Regions from separate parts of the Homo sapiens genome. Here all the other regions are linked to region 3. The links are contacts of gene promoters, found by promoter capture Hi-C in human tissues and cell types (Jung and others, 2019). All regions are on one chromosome and are shown on one strand. Each heading gives the region's core, a stretch centred on a gene start or on the middle of the fragment in contact. The rest is flanking DNA. Distances are from core to core; before and after follow the strand shown. Region 1 has its middle 120 kb from the start of POTEC. Region 2 has its middle 150 kb from the start of POTEC. Region 3 holds the start of MC5R (melanocortin 5 receptor). Region 4 has its middle 130 kb from the start of POTEC.

What was found. The method cuts DNA at HindIII sites, captures the fragments that hold promoters and counts their contacts. A contact is called where the count stands out against the background at its distance.
Region 1: a fragment that was not itself captured here is called in contact with the fragment with the promoter of MC5R in region 3 in 1 of the 25 tissues and cell types used here (dorsolateral prefrontal cortex).
Region 2: a fragment that was not itself captured here is called in contact with the fragment with the promoter of MC5R in region 3 in 1 of the 25 tissues and cell types used here (dorsolateral prefrontal cortex).
Region 4: a fragment that was not itself captured here is called in contact with the fragment with the promoter of MC5R in region 3 in 2 of the 25 tissues and cell types used here (lymphoblastoid cells and spleen).

What each region holds. Positions count from the first base shown.
Region 1 is chr18:14,424,581-14,427,955 of GRCh38, reverse strand. No RefSeq gene overlaps it. Among named protein-coding and RNA genes, the nearest start is that of POTEC, 120 kb to the left of the region's middle. The HindIII fragment of the contact is 3,526 bases long and covers 1-3,375 here.
Region 2 is chr18:14,391,829-14,395,079 of GRCh38, reverse strand. It overlaps the pseudogene FEM1AP2. Among named protein-coding and RNA genes, the nearest start is that of POTEC, 150 kb to the left of the region's middle. The HindIII fragment of the contact is 3,708 bases long and covers 1-3,251 here.
Region 3 is chr18:13,822,505-13,825,642 of GRCh38, reverse strand. It overlaps MC5R (melanocortin 5 receptor), which reads right to left and starts at 1,494. Exons shown (of 2, transcript NM_005913.3): 1 at 1,369-1,494. RefSeq lists silencers at 1,290-1,379, 1,390-1,679, 1,645-1,825. The HindIII fragment of the contact is 21,381 bases long and covers 1-3,138 here.
Region 4 is chr18:14,408,444-14,411,687 of GRCh38, reverse strand. No RefSeq gene overlaps it. Among named protein-coding and RNA genes, the nearest start is that of POTEC, 130 kb to the left of the region's middle. The HindIII fragment of the contact is 5,013 bases long and covers 1-3,244 here.

The DNA.
Region 1 (3,375 bases), core at 474-2,973, 600 kb before region 3:
ACCAGCAACAGAACAAAACTGGACAGAGAATGACTTTGATGAGTTGACAGAAGTAGGCTTCAGAAAGTCAGTAATAACAAACTTCTCTGAGCTAAAGGAGCATGTTCTAACCTACTGGAAGGAAGCTAAAACTCTTGAAAACAGGTTAGATAATGGCTAACTAGAATAAATAGTGTAAAGAAGACCTTAAATGACCTGACGGAGATGAAAACCACAGCATGAGAACTTCGTGACGCATGCACAAGCTTCAATAGCTGATTCAATCAAGTGGAAGAAAGGATATCAGTGATTGAAGATCAAATTAATGAAATAAAGTGAGAAGACAAGATTAGAGAAAAAAGAGTAAAAAGTAATGAACAAAGCCTCCAAAAAATATGGGACTATGTGAATAGACCAAATCTACATTTGATTGGTGTACCTGAAAGTGACAGGGAGAATGGAACCAAGTTAGAAAACATTCTTCAGGATATTATCCAGGAGAATTTCCCCAACCTGGCAAGGCAGGCCAACATCCAAATTCAGGAAATACAGAGAATACAACAAAGATACTCCACGAGAAGAGCAACTCCAAGACACATAATTGTCAGATTCACCAAGGTTGAAATGAAGGAAAAAATGTTAAGGGCAGCCAGAGAGAAAGGTCGGGTTACCCACAAAGAGAAAACCATCAGACTAACAGCGGAACTCTCAGCAGAAACCCTACAGGCCAGAAAAGAGTGGGGGCCAATATTCAACATTCTTAAAGAAAAGAATTTCCAACCCAGAATTTCATATCCAGCCAAACTACACATCATAAGTGAAGGATAAATAAAATCCTTTACATACAAGCAAATGCTGAGAGATTTTGTCACCATCAGGCCTGCCTTACAAGAGCTCCTGAAGGAAGCGCTAAACATGGAAATGAACAACTGGTACCAGCCACTGCAAAAATATGCCAAATTGCAAAGGCCATCAGCACTATGAAGAAATTACATCAACTAAGGGGCAAAGTAACCAGCAAACATAATAATGACAGGATCAAATTCACATATAACACTATTAAATGTAAATGGGCAAAATGCCCCAATTAAAAGACACAGACTTGCAAATTGGATAAACAGTCAAAACCATCAGTGTGCTGTATTCAGGAGGCCCATCTCACATGCAGAGACACACATAGGCTCAAAATAAAGGGATGGAGGAAGATCTACCAAGCAAATGGAAAGCAAAAAAAGCAGGGGTTGCCATCCTAATCTCTGATAAAACAGACTTTAAACCAACAAAGATCAAAAGAGACAAAGAAGGTCATTACATAATGGTAAAGGGATCAATTGAACAAGAAGAGCTAACTATTCTAAATATATATGCACCTAATACAGGAGCACCCAGATTCGTAAAGCAAGTCCTTAGAGACCTACAAAGAGACTTAGACTCTGATGCAATAATAATGGGAGACTTCAACACCCCACTCTCAATAGTAGATCAATGAGACAGAAGCTTAGCAAGGATATCCAGGACGTGAACTCAGCTCTGCACCACATGGACCTAAATAGATATCTACAGAATTCTCCACCCCAACTCTACAGAATATATATTCTTCTCAGCACCACATCACACTTATTCTAAAATTGACCACATAATTGGAGGTGAAACATTCCTCAGCAAATGTAAAAGTACAGAAATCACAACAAACTGTCTCTCAGACCACAGTGCCATCAAATTAGAACTCAGGATTAAGAAACTCACTCAAAACTGCACAATGCATGGAAACTGAAGAACCTGTTCCTGAGTGACTACTGGATAAAAAATGAAATGAAGGCAGAAATAAAGATATTCTTTGAAACAACATACCAGAATCTCTGGGACACATGTAAAGCAGTGTGTAGAGGGAAATTTATAGTACTAAATGCCCACAAGAGAAAGCAGGAAAGATCTAAAATCAACAGCCTAACATCAAAATTAAAAGAACTGGAGAAGCCAGAGTAAACAAATTCAAAAGCTAGCCGAAGGCAAGAAATAACTAAGATCAGAGCAGAACTGAAGGAGATGGAGACACAAAAAACCGTTCCAAAAATCAGTGAATCCAGGAAGTGGTTTTTTGAAAAGATCAACAAAATAGATAGACTGCTAGCAAGACTAATAAAGAAGAAAAGAGAGAAGAATCAAATATGCTCAATAAAAATGATAAAGGGGATATCACCACCAATCTCACAGAAATATAAACTACCACCAGAGAATACTATAAACACCTCTATGAAAATAAACTAGAAAATCTAGAAGAAATGGATAAATTCCTGGACATACACACCCTCCCAAGACAGAACTAGGAAGAAGTTGAATCTCTGAATAGACCAATAACAGGTTCTGAAATTGAGGCAATAATTAATAGCATACCAACCAAAAAAAGTCCAGGACCAGACGGATTCACAGCCGAATTCTACCAGAGGTACAAAGAGGAGCTGGTACCATGCCCTCTGAAACTATTCCAATCAACAGAAAAAGAGGGAATCCTCCCTAACTCATTTTATGAGGCCAACATCATCCTGATACCAAAGCCTGGCAGAGACACAACAAAAAAAGAGAAATTTAGACCAATATCCCTGATGAACATCAATGCGAAAATCCTCAATAAAATACTGGCAAACCAAATCCAGCAGCACATCAAAAACTTATCCACCATGATCAAGTGGGCTTCATCCCTGGGATGCAAGGCTGGTTCAACATACACAAATTAATAAATGTAATCCATCACTTAAACAGAACCAATGTCGAAAACCGCATGATTATCTCAATAGATGCAGAAAAGGCCTTTGACAAAATTCAACAGCCCTTCATGCTAAAAACTCTCAATGAACTAGGTATGATGGAATGTATCTCAAAATAATAAGAGATATTTAAAACAAACCCACAGCCAACACCATATTGAATGGGCAAAAACTGGAAGCATTCCCTTTGAAAACCACCACAAGACAGGGATGCCCTCTCTCACCACTCCTGTTCAACACAGTGTTGGAAGTTCTGGCCAGGGCAATCAGGCAAGAGAAAGAAATAAAGGGTATTCAATTAGGAAATGAGGAAGTCCAATTGTCCCTATTTGCAGATGACATGATTGTATATTTAGAAAACCCCATCGTCTCAGCCCAAAATCTCCTTAAGCTGATAAGCAAGTTCAGCAAAGTCTCAGGATACAAAATTAATGGGCTAAAATCATAAGCATTCCTATAATGTTGCCAGAAGTCAGGGACCCCAAACAGAGGGACCAGCTGGAGCCACAGCAGAGGAACATAAATTGTGAAGATTTCATGGACATTTATCAGTTCCCAAAATTAATACTTTTATAATTTCTAACACCTGTCTATACTGCAATCTCTGAACATAAATTGTGACAATTTCAGG
Region 2 (3,251 bases), core at 154-2,653, 570 kb before region 3:
ATATAGATAGAATTGTTAAGACTCATAGCTATTCCAACATCTTTGCTTAGGGGGCCATAGGGAGTGCCAACATCGAGTATCAGAACAAACTAGATGAATGCCAAAATCTCTTACATTCTAAGGTTATATGAGAAAGTGATTTTGATGCCAAAGAGTAAATATTCCACAAATTCCAAACCTCCTTCCAGGCATATATATTCGGGTGGCACCTGCTTTAAGAAGTCTCCCTTAATCTGAGAACACAGTTTGCTTGTGCTTCTAATACTTTGACCATATATTGTCTTTTGTCATCTTTTGACCATATTGTACATTTATGTATTATTTAGCTTTGTGTTGTTATGTCTTATCTAAAACCAAGGTTCTTCTTTTAGGAATACATGTTATTTTATCCTCTATGACACCTAGCACAATACAATGAAGTTAGTAGATACTCAGATAATATCTGTAGTCTGAACCTATTTCCTTATCTAAAAAGTAAGGAATAAAAACACCCATTTTACCTGCCTCACTGAGCTGTTTTGAAGATCAGATGAAATAATGTGCCTGAAAGCACTTTGAAAAGTATAAAATGTTATACAAATGTAAGGCATTCTAATTTCAGAGGGAGGTTTTTCTCAGTTATAACCTCCATGTCAGCTTGAATAAAGGAACATTTTTTAAAACTTAATCTGAAAAGAAACTTGTCCCTTCTGGGCACAAATTATAAAACTCCCCAAAAAATGTTTGTATATATTTTTGTTTGTTTGTTCCTAAATAGTATAATGAACTATGGTCTTTCAGGGAAAATGTTGCTCTGATACTAGTCACAATGTAGAAAATTGCCCTTATGTACTTTCAGGAAAGAATTGCAAACAAATGAGCTATTTTCTCTTCTCGAGTAAAGGGACTTCCCAAGCATGGGTGGCAGCTGTTCAAGTCCATCTGGTCAAGAATTCACTAAGATCATAATGTGAAAGTTGCTCAAGTGCAGATTTGCATGACAGCCTGCAAATGTTCCTTTGGAGACGAAATGGTTTCTCAGGTCAATAATCTGCATATTTAAAAGTCTCTAGGACACCCTAAGATGGCGGCGAGGGAGACCGTGAAGGTTGGCTCCCGCCTGTCTGGGCTGTGATCCTCTGTCTCCCCCTCCCCCTGCGGCCGGCTCATGGCCTGGCGCAGGCCCGAACCAAAGACCCCCGCACCGCCGTGTACAACGCCGCCCGTGACGGCAAGCTGCAGCTGCTCCAGAAGCTGCTCAGCGGCCGGAGCCGGGAGGAACTGGACGAGCTGACTGGCTAGGTGGCCGGCGGGGGGACGCCTCTGCTCATCGCCGCCTGCTACGGCCACCTGGACGTGGTGGAGTACCTGGTGGACCCGTGCGGCGCGAGCGTGGAGGCCGGTGGCTCGGTGCACTTCGATGGCGAGACCATGGAGGGTGCGCCGCCGCTGTGGGCGCGGACCACCTGGACGTGGTGGGGAGCCTGCTGCGCCGCGGGGCCTCGGTGAACCGCACCACGCGCACCAACTCCACGCCCCTCCGCGCCGCCTGCTTCGAGGGCCTCCTGGAGGTGGTGCGCTACCTGGTCGGCGAGCACCAGGCCAACCTGGAGTTGGCCAACCGGCACGGCCACACGTGCCTCATGATCTCGTGCTACAAGGGCCACCGTGAGATCGCCCGCTACCTGCTGGAGCAGGGCGCCCAGGTGAACTGGCGCAGCGCCAAGGGCAACACGGCCCTGCACAACTGTGCCGAGACCAGCAGCCTGGAGATCCTGCAGCTGCTGCTGGGGTGCAAGGCCAGCATGGAACGTGATAGCTACGGCATGACCCCGTTGCTCCCGGCCAGCGTGACGGGCCACACCAACATCGTGGAGTACCTCATCCAAGAGCAGCCCGGCCAGGAGCGGGTCACAGGGGTAGAGGCTCAGCCTGGGCTGCCCCAAGAAGGCTCCTCCACCAGCCAGGGGTGTACGCAGCCTCAGGGGGCTCCGTGCTGCATCTTCTCCCCTGAGGTACTGAACGGGGGAATCTTACCAAAGCTGCTGTCCCACCAGCTGGGAAGCTGCCGTGGAAGCCTTGAAATTGCTGGGATCTACGTATGTGGATAAGAAACGAGATCTGCTTGGGGCCCTTAAACACTGGAGGCGGGCCATGGAGCTGCGTCACCAGGGGGGTGAGTACCTGCCCAAACTGGAGCCCCCATAGCTGGTCCTGGCCTATGACTATTCCAGGGAGGTCAACACCACCGAGGAGCTGGAGGCGCTGATCACCGACCCCGATGAGATGCGTATGCAGGCCCTGTTGATCCGGGAGCGCATCCTCAGTCCCTCGCACCCCGACACTTCCTATTGTATCCGTTACAGGGGCGCCGTGTACGCCGACTCGGGCAATATCGAGTGCTACATCCGCTTGTGGAAGTATGCCCTGGACATGCAACAGAGCAACCTGGAGCCTCTGAGCCCCATGACCGCCAGCAGCTTCCTCTCCTTCGCCGAACTCTTCTCCTACGTGCTGCAGGACCGGGCTGCCAAAGGCAGCCTGGGCAGCCAGATCGGCTTTGCAGACCTCATGGGGGTCCTCACCAAAGGGGTCCGGGAAGTGGAATGGGCCCTGCAGCTGCTCAGGGAGCCTAGAGACTCGACCCAGTTCAACAAGGCGCTGGTCATCATCCTCCACCTGCTCTACCTGCTGGAGAAAGTGGAGTGCACCCCCAGCCAGGAGCACCTGAAGCACCAGACTATCTACCGCCGCTCAAGTGCGCACCCAAGGGCAAGAACGGCTTCACCCCTCTGCACATGGCTGTGGACAAGGACACCACAAACGTGGGCCGCTACTCCGTGGGCAGATTCCCCTCCTTGCACGTGGTCAAAGTGCTGTTCGACTGCGGGGCCGACCGGGACAGCAGGGATTTTGACAACAACACCCCGCTACACATAGCAGCCCAGAACAACTGCCCGGCCATCGTGAATGCCCTGATTGAAGCAGGGGCCCACATGGACGCCACCAACGCCTTCAAGAAGACGGCCTACACGCTGCTGGAAGAGAAGCTGCTGGCCAGGGGTACCATGCAGCCCTTCAGCTATGTGACCCTGCAGTGCCTTGCAGCCCAGGCCCTGGGTAAGAACAAGATCCCTTACAAGGGCTTCATCCCGGAAGATCTAGAGGCATTCATCGAACTGCACTGACCTGCCCAGAACATCTGCACCCTCACCTCTCCCCTCTCCTGCTGAGACGGGGGAAATCAGCCTGGGGTATAGCAGATGCTCGTT
Region 3 (3,138 bases), core at 245-2,744:
CCTAAGAAAGGGGATGAATGACACAGTGCATCAGAGGACTGGGCTCGGCTCACTCAGTCCTTTTTTTTTTTTTTTTTTAAGAGACAGGGTCTCCCTATGTTGCCCAGTCTGGTCTCAAACTCCTGGCCACAAGCGATCTTCTCTCTCAGCCTCCCAAAGTGCTGGTACTACAGGGGTGAGCCACGTGCCCGGCAGCTGGCTTGCACATTCTGACCTGCGTTCCTGAGACCTGGAAGAGTGCCCCTGGACACGCAGATTAGAATCTTCACCAGCCTCTTCTGCTCTCCTTGCTTTCAGCTCCCAGCCTTTCACATGCATCTTACTAGAGAGACACTCACCTCCAAGTGCCCAGGACAGTTTCACTTTTTATGGCTTCTCTCCTGGGCTCAAGTTCACTATCATAAGTGTCCCCAACTCATAACCTACAAAATCCCAGCCAGTCTCCCAATGTTCACATTCCTAAGGCTACTGCACGACATTCTCCTCAAGGGAGCTCCGATTTAAGACTGCCCAGACCCGTATTCCCTTAAGACAGACAGACAGGTGCATCCCTAACACTTGTCCTGACACTTCTTAGACCCATCAGGATTCAGCCTCCACAGCTGTAAGTAAGGCTATAACCAGAATGGTCTGTTACCCTGAGCAAAGTCACATGTTAAAAGCTACTGTCTTAAGTTTGTAAGTGTAGGCTGCACATACGTGTTAAAATTGAGGAAAACAGTGCTGCTTTTCCCTCAATACCTATTTTTCCCTCGCTTCTGCATTATGTGGAATTCCATGAGGTCTGCTTGATAGTTTATTAGGTCCGCGTGAGCACAGTATTTAAAAAAAAAAACAGCAATTTAAATGTACCACACTCCTTTGTTGCAAAATTTCTCTCTTATGATTCATTTTCAAAAATCCCTTTGCCCTCCAAACTCAGATCACATCTGGAGAGAATTTCTGTCATCACTGTCATCATTAATATTTGTAATCACTTTGGGAGGGAGGGAGGGGGTGAGGGACAACAAATTACTTAATAGGTACAATGTACACTATAGGGGTGATGGCTACACTAAAAGCCCAGTCTCCACCACTATGCAATACATCCATATAACAAAACAGCACCTGTACCCCCTAAATCTATAAAAATAAAAAAGGAAAAAATTGGTAATCTAAGCATTTATTGAACTACAATCATTTGTTACAGCTGAGTTCCAGCTCAGATATATCGGTAAATTATGCAATTATACTAAACATCATATCGAGCTGTGTTAAAAACTCACGGGGCAAGCTAGCTGCCGCCCCGCTCACTTCCACATGCAGCGGAAGCGCGATTTTGCATTTATTCTCAGGATCTCAAGGAGATAGAAAGTTGTGGCTATTTACCGGTGCTCCTCCTCGCGGGCCGCGGCGCTCAGCCCGGGCCCCCGGCGTCCCCGGGATCCGACGGCCGTGCGGCGCTCAGAGCCAGCCCCGGACGGGCCTCTCCCCCAGCTAGGCGGCTGCGGCTCTGCGGGGCTTTAAGCCTCCTGCCTGCCCGCGCCGGGCCCGCCTCCGCACCGCCGGCTGTCGCTCCGGGCGGCCTCCGCTGCCACCTAGTGGCCCAGCACGGCACAGCGGCCAGAGAACCGCGTCAGCCCCGAGCGAAAATCCCCCCGAACACACTCTTGAATGGTTGGATGGTTGCTTGGTTGGTTGGTTGGTCGGTCGGGTCGGTGGGTCGGTCGGTCGGTCGGTCGGTCGGTTGAATGGTTGGTTGGGTGAGTGGTTGCTTGGTTGGGTAGTTGGTTGGTTGAGTGGGTGGGTGGGTGGTTGCTTGTTTGGTGATTGGTTGGTTGGGTGAGCAGGTGGTTGCTTGCTTGGTTGGTTGGGTGGTTACGGGTTAGTTAGTTGGGTAGGTGGGTGGTTGCCTGATTGGTTGATTGGTTGATTGGTTAGGTGAGTGGATGGTTACTTGGTTGCTTGGCTGGTTGGGTGGGGGGTTCGTTGATTGGGTAGGTGGGTGGTTCCTTGGTTGGTTGATTGGTTGGTTGGGTAGGTGGGTGGTTGCTTGGTTGGTTGATTGGTTGGTTGGGTAGGTGGGTGGTTGCTTGGTTGAGTGAGTAGATGGTTACTTGGTTGCTTGCTCGCTTGCTCGCTTGCTTGGGTGGGTGGGGGGTAGTTGGTTGGGTAGGTGGGTGGTTGCTTGGTTCGTTGATTGGTTGCTTGGGTGGGTGGGTGGTTGGTTGGGTGAGTGGATGGTTGCTTGGTTGGTTGATTGGGTAAGTGGGGGTTGGTTGGGTAGGTGGGTGGTTGCTTGGTTGGTTGGTTGGGTCAGTGGGTGGGTGGGTGGTGGGTGGTTGCTTGGTTGGTTGGTTGGGTCAGTGGGTGGGTGGGTGGGTCGTTGGGTGGGTGGTTGCTTGGTTGGTTGGTTGGGTCAGTGGGTGGGTGGATGGGTGGTTGGGAGGGTGGTTGGTTGGTTGGTTGGTTGGCTGGGTCAGTGGGTGGATGGATGGGTGGTTGGGTGAGTGGTTGCTAGGTTGGTTGGGTCAGTGGGTGGGTGGATGGGTGGTTGGGTGGGTGGTTGCTTGGTTTGGTTGGTTGGGTCAGTGGGTTGGGTGGATGGGTGGTTGTGTGGGTGGTTGGTTGGTTGGTTGGTTGGGTCGGTGGGTGGATGGATAGGTGGTTGGGTGGGGGAGTGGTTGGTTGGGTCAGTGGGTGGGTGGATGGGTGGTTGGGTGGGTAGCTGCTTGGTTGTTTTTCTGGCTGGTTGCACTTTTTGTTTCTTTTCTCTTCCTCTTGAGCACTGATTAAAATGCTCCCGAGCTCAAAGAGGGCTTGTCACCCCGTTTCTCCTGGACAGTGGTCTCTGGGATGTCCTGATGATTGTTCTTTGGGAAGGAGGCCCAGTGCCTGGGAGCCCTCATCTGTGGCCCTACCACGCCCCTCTTTGCCCAAGGCTCTCACCCCTCCTCCAGGACTACACATGCCATGCCAGGCTTTATCAACCACACAGGCTTTCCTTACTCCAGCAAAAAAGAACAAAGGATGTCCTCTCACCAAATATCCTGGCCTTTCGCAATAGTTTCTGGACCCCACTCCTTCTCTGACACCTAAAACTGACCTTCAACCCCCAAAAGAATCATTATACTCACAATAAGCAGAAGTGCCACTGCC
Region 4 (3,244 bases), core at 424-2,923, 590 kb before region 3:
CATTCTCCCAGCTCCATGCAGAGATCCTTAAAGACAGTCTCAGTTGCAGCCGGGTGTGGTGGCTCATGCCTGTTATCCCAGCACTTTGGAAGGCTGAGGCAGGCGGATCAAGAGGTCAGGAGTTTGAGACCAGCCTGGCCAATATAGTGAAACCTCATCTCTACTAAAAATACAAAAACTAGCCAGGTTTGGTGGCAGGTGCCTGTAATCCCAGCTACTCAGGAGGCTGAAGCAGGAGGATTGCTTGAACCCAGGAGGCAGAGGTTGCAGTAAGCTGAGATCATGCCACTGCATTCCAGCCTGGGTGACAGAGGAAGACTCAGTCTCAAAAAAAAAAAAAGTCTCAGTTGCAGGCCTTCGGAAGCAAAGCACAAAGCAGCTGGAAGAGGCTTACAGAAAGAGCAAAAGAATGTGGGGTATCTGTGTGTGCTGTCAACAGTGCTCACTATTACTGTGAATGAATATCTGTGTCCCCCCAGAATTCATATATTGAAGCCTAACCCCCAAGTTGATGATATTTGGAGGTGGGGCCTTGGGGAGGTGATTAGGTCATGAATGTGGAGCCCTCATAGGTGTGATTCCTGCCCTTATAAGAAAAGATGATCTCTCTCTCCACCATCTAAGGATACAAGAAGACAGCATCTGCAAACCAGGAAGGGGGTCTTCACCAGTCACAGTCTGCTGACACCCTGACCCTGGACTATCCTAGGCTCCAGAACTCCAGAAATCAATCTCTGTTGTTTAAATCACTCAGTCTATGATATCTTGTTATAGCAGCCCAAACTGACTAAGACAATTATACATGTCAAAATCCTTTCTAATCTGTGGATCTGGGCTTTGCAACTTTGCATGTCTCACAGCCAGCAGAGGATTCTATTATTAATGGTAATCCATGTCGAATTTAATACTATAAGAATTTTTCATAAAATCAATTTGTTTTTAACCTTTTGGCTATCAAACTAGTTGTAATTTGAAATCCAAGACAATTAAATCTTTGTAAAATGTGGGTCTTTTTGTAAGATGACTTTAACCACAGAGAAAATGTAAAATTTTAGGAAGGGTAAGACATGTAGTTAGCACTGAGATTACTATGTGAGGCCTAATGTCATCTATGTGTAAGGCAATCATCAGTGTTACATTTCATTAGAAAGATGGCTTTTAAAAAACAACTAGCGCCAAGGTGGACAGATCACCTGAGGTCAGGAGTTCGAGACCAGCTTGCCCAGCATGGTGAAACCCCATCTCTATTAAAATTCCAAAACATTAGCCGGGTGTGGTGGCAGATGCCTGTAATCCCAGCTACTTGGGAGGCTGAGGCAGGAGACTCGCTTGAACCCAGAAGGCAGAGGTTGCAGTGAGCTGAGATTGCTCAACTGTACTCCAGCCTGGGCGACAAGAGTGAAACTCCGTTAAAAAAAAAAAAAAAAAAGAAAACTAGCCAGCTTCACAATGGAGGCAGTTCCATAATTTGTTGGGATTTTGGAATGGCAGTGAGCTACATATCTTTTCTTTCATGTTCTAACATATAGAAAACAAACTAAGTCTTTGTATATTAGCTAACTCAGCAGAACAGTCTGTGGGAGATTATATTGATCTTGAATACACAGTGCACACGTATTGGATATTGATGCATAATTTGGGTCTAATTTCTTCTCGTATCTAAATACCCGTAAACCTTTAGAACGGTTTAAATGTACAGGCTCAGAATGACTTTAATAGGGCCTTTAAAATTTATATTTATATATTTAAATAAGTGCTGATGGCACTGTTGTTTATAATATTAGGTTTCTTGCTGACCTCTCAGAATTTTCCTTAGAGCCTGAGACAGGCCGACTGGTTGGTTCCCTATCTTAAGATTGTCTGAAGGAAAAGGATAAAAGCCCCTCTACTCAAGCTCTAGCTTGTCTAACTCTCAGCCAATCAGCAATAAAAGACCAAGGAAGCTATTAATTGCAAATTTCTATTTCAGGGGGCTAGAGGCTTTCCCAGAGTCCCATATGTGGAGTCAGACTTAAACTCCAACCTAAAGTTATCTTTTCCTCATTTTAACACTAAAGTTCATGCCCAGGGGTGGAGATTTAAAATGCTAATGCTACATGAAATGTATGAAGAAACATGTTGAGCCATTGTGCAGGTGCTAGCAAAACTCCCCCTATACATTCCCTGAGGGAATCCTTCCCTATGGAAAGACCCTATACCTAACCGAACCACACAGTATCTTCGGGGAACAGCCCACTCCTTTTTGTTCTCTCATGACTGGCTCCCTGAGAGGTAATAAACTCTCTTCATTGCTGCCTCTGGTGATCTCTCTTGATTTCTATCCTGGGAAATCACAAGATCCCAGGGCACTGTTAAGAAGCTTATCACAGATTCTTTGAATTTCTTCAGTGGTTCTGAAACAAGAGTGTTCCCTTGACCCCTTTGCGGGACTTGTGACATGAGTGACTTGTTTACTTGTTTACCATGCTGAATCCCTTATGGAAGGAAGCACATGAGTGGATGGGTGTGGGACCCAGAGCAAATGAATGTGGAACTGGCCTGTGGCTCCTCTCCGGCGGGAGCAAGCTTTGTGTGGGTTCTGCAGCAGTGTCAAAGTGTGTTACAATGGTCTTTTAGCTCTGCGGTCTGGGAGGGGCTGTCTGCGACCCCCAGAGCCCCAGAGGGCCTGTGTTACAATCAGTGCTCCTTTAACATTTGCTGTCTGTGGATGGCTAAGTGTTAACCAGCTCAGTGGAAGGTGAGGGTGACAGCCTTTTACACTTTGCTGTCTTGGTACCTGAGTTCTGATCCAGTGTCCAGGAAGAATCAGGTCACATGAACAAATTGAAGATGGTGAATGTGGAGGACTTTATTGAGTGGTAAAAGTGGGCCTCAGTAGGAAAGGGAGCTGGAAAGGGGATGGAGCAGGAAGATAATCTTCCCCTGAAGCCCAGATGTCTCCAGCTGAACTCCTCTCTGACCATAGTCCCTGACCTCCAGCTGCTTCTTCTCATCTCAATATCCAGACACTTCTCTCTTCTGTGTGTGTGTCCACTGAGTCTGGGGCTTGGGATTCTTATGGGCACAGGATAGGGGGTGGTGTGGGGTGGGCCAAAAGGCAACAATCAGGTGGGAAAACAGGGATAGTTCTCACTTTGGGCTGTGGGTCCAGGCTTGTGGGTGGAGCCCTTGCCAAAGATCCTGCCCTCTTCTACCAGTATTTGCCTGCCTTCTGTCCATTTCAGTTCAAGACAGTTTGTGCAAT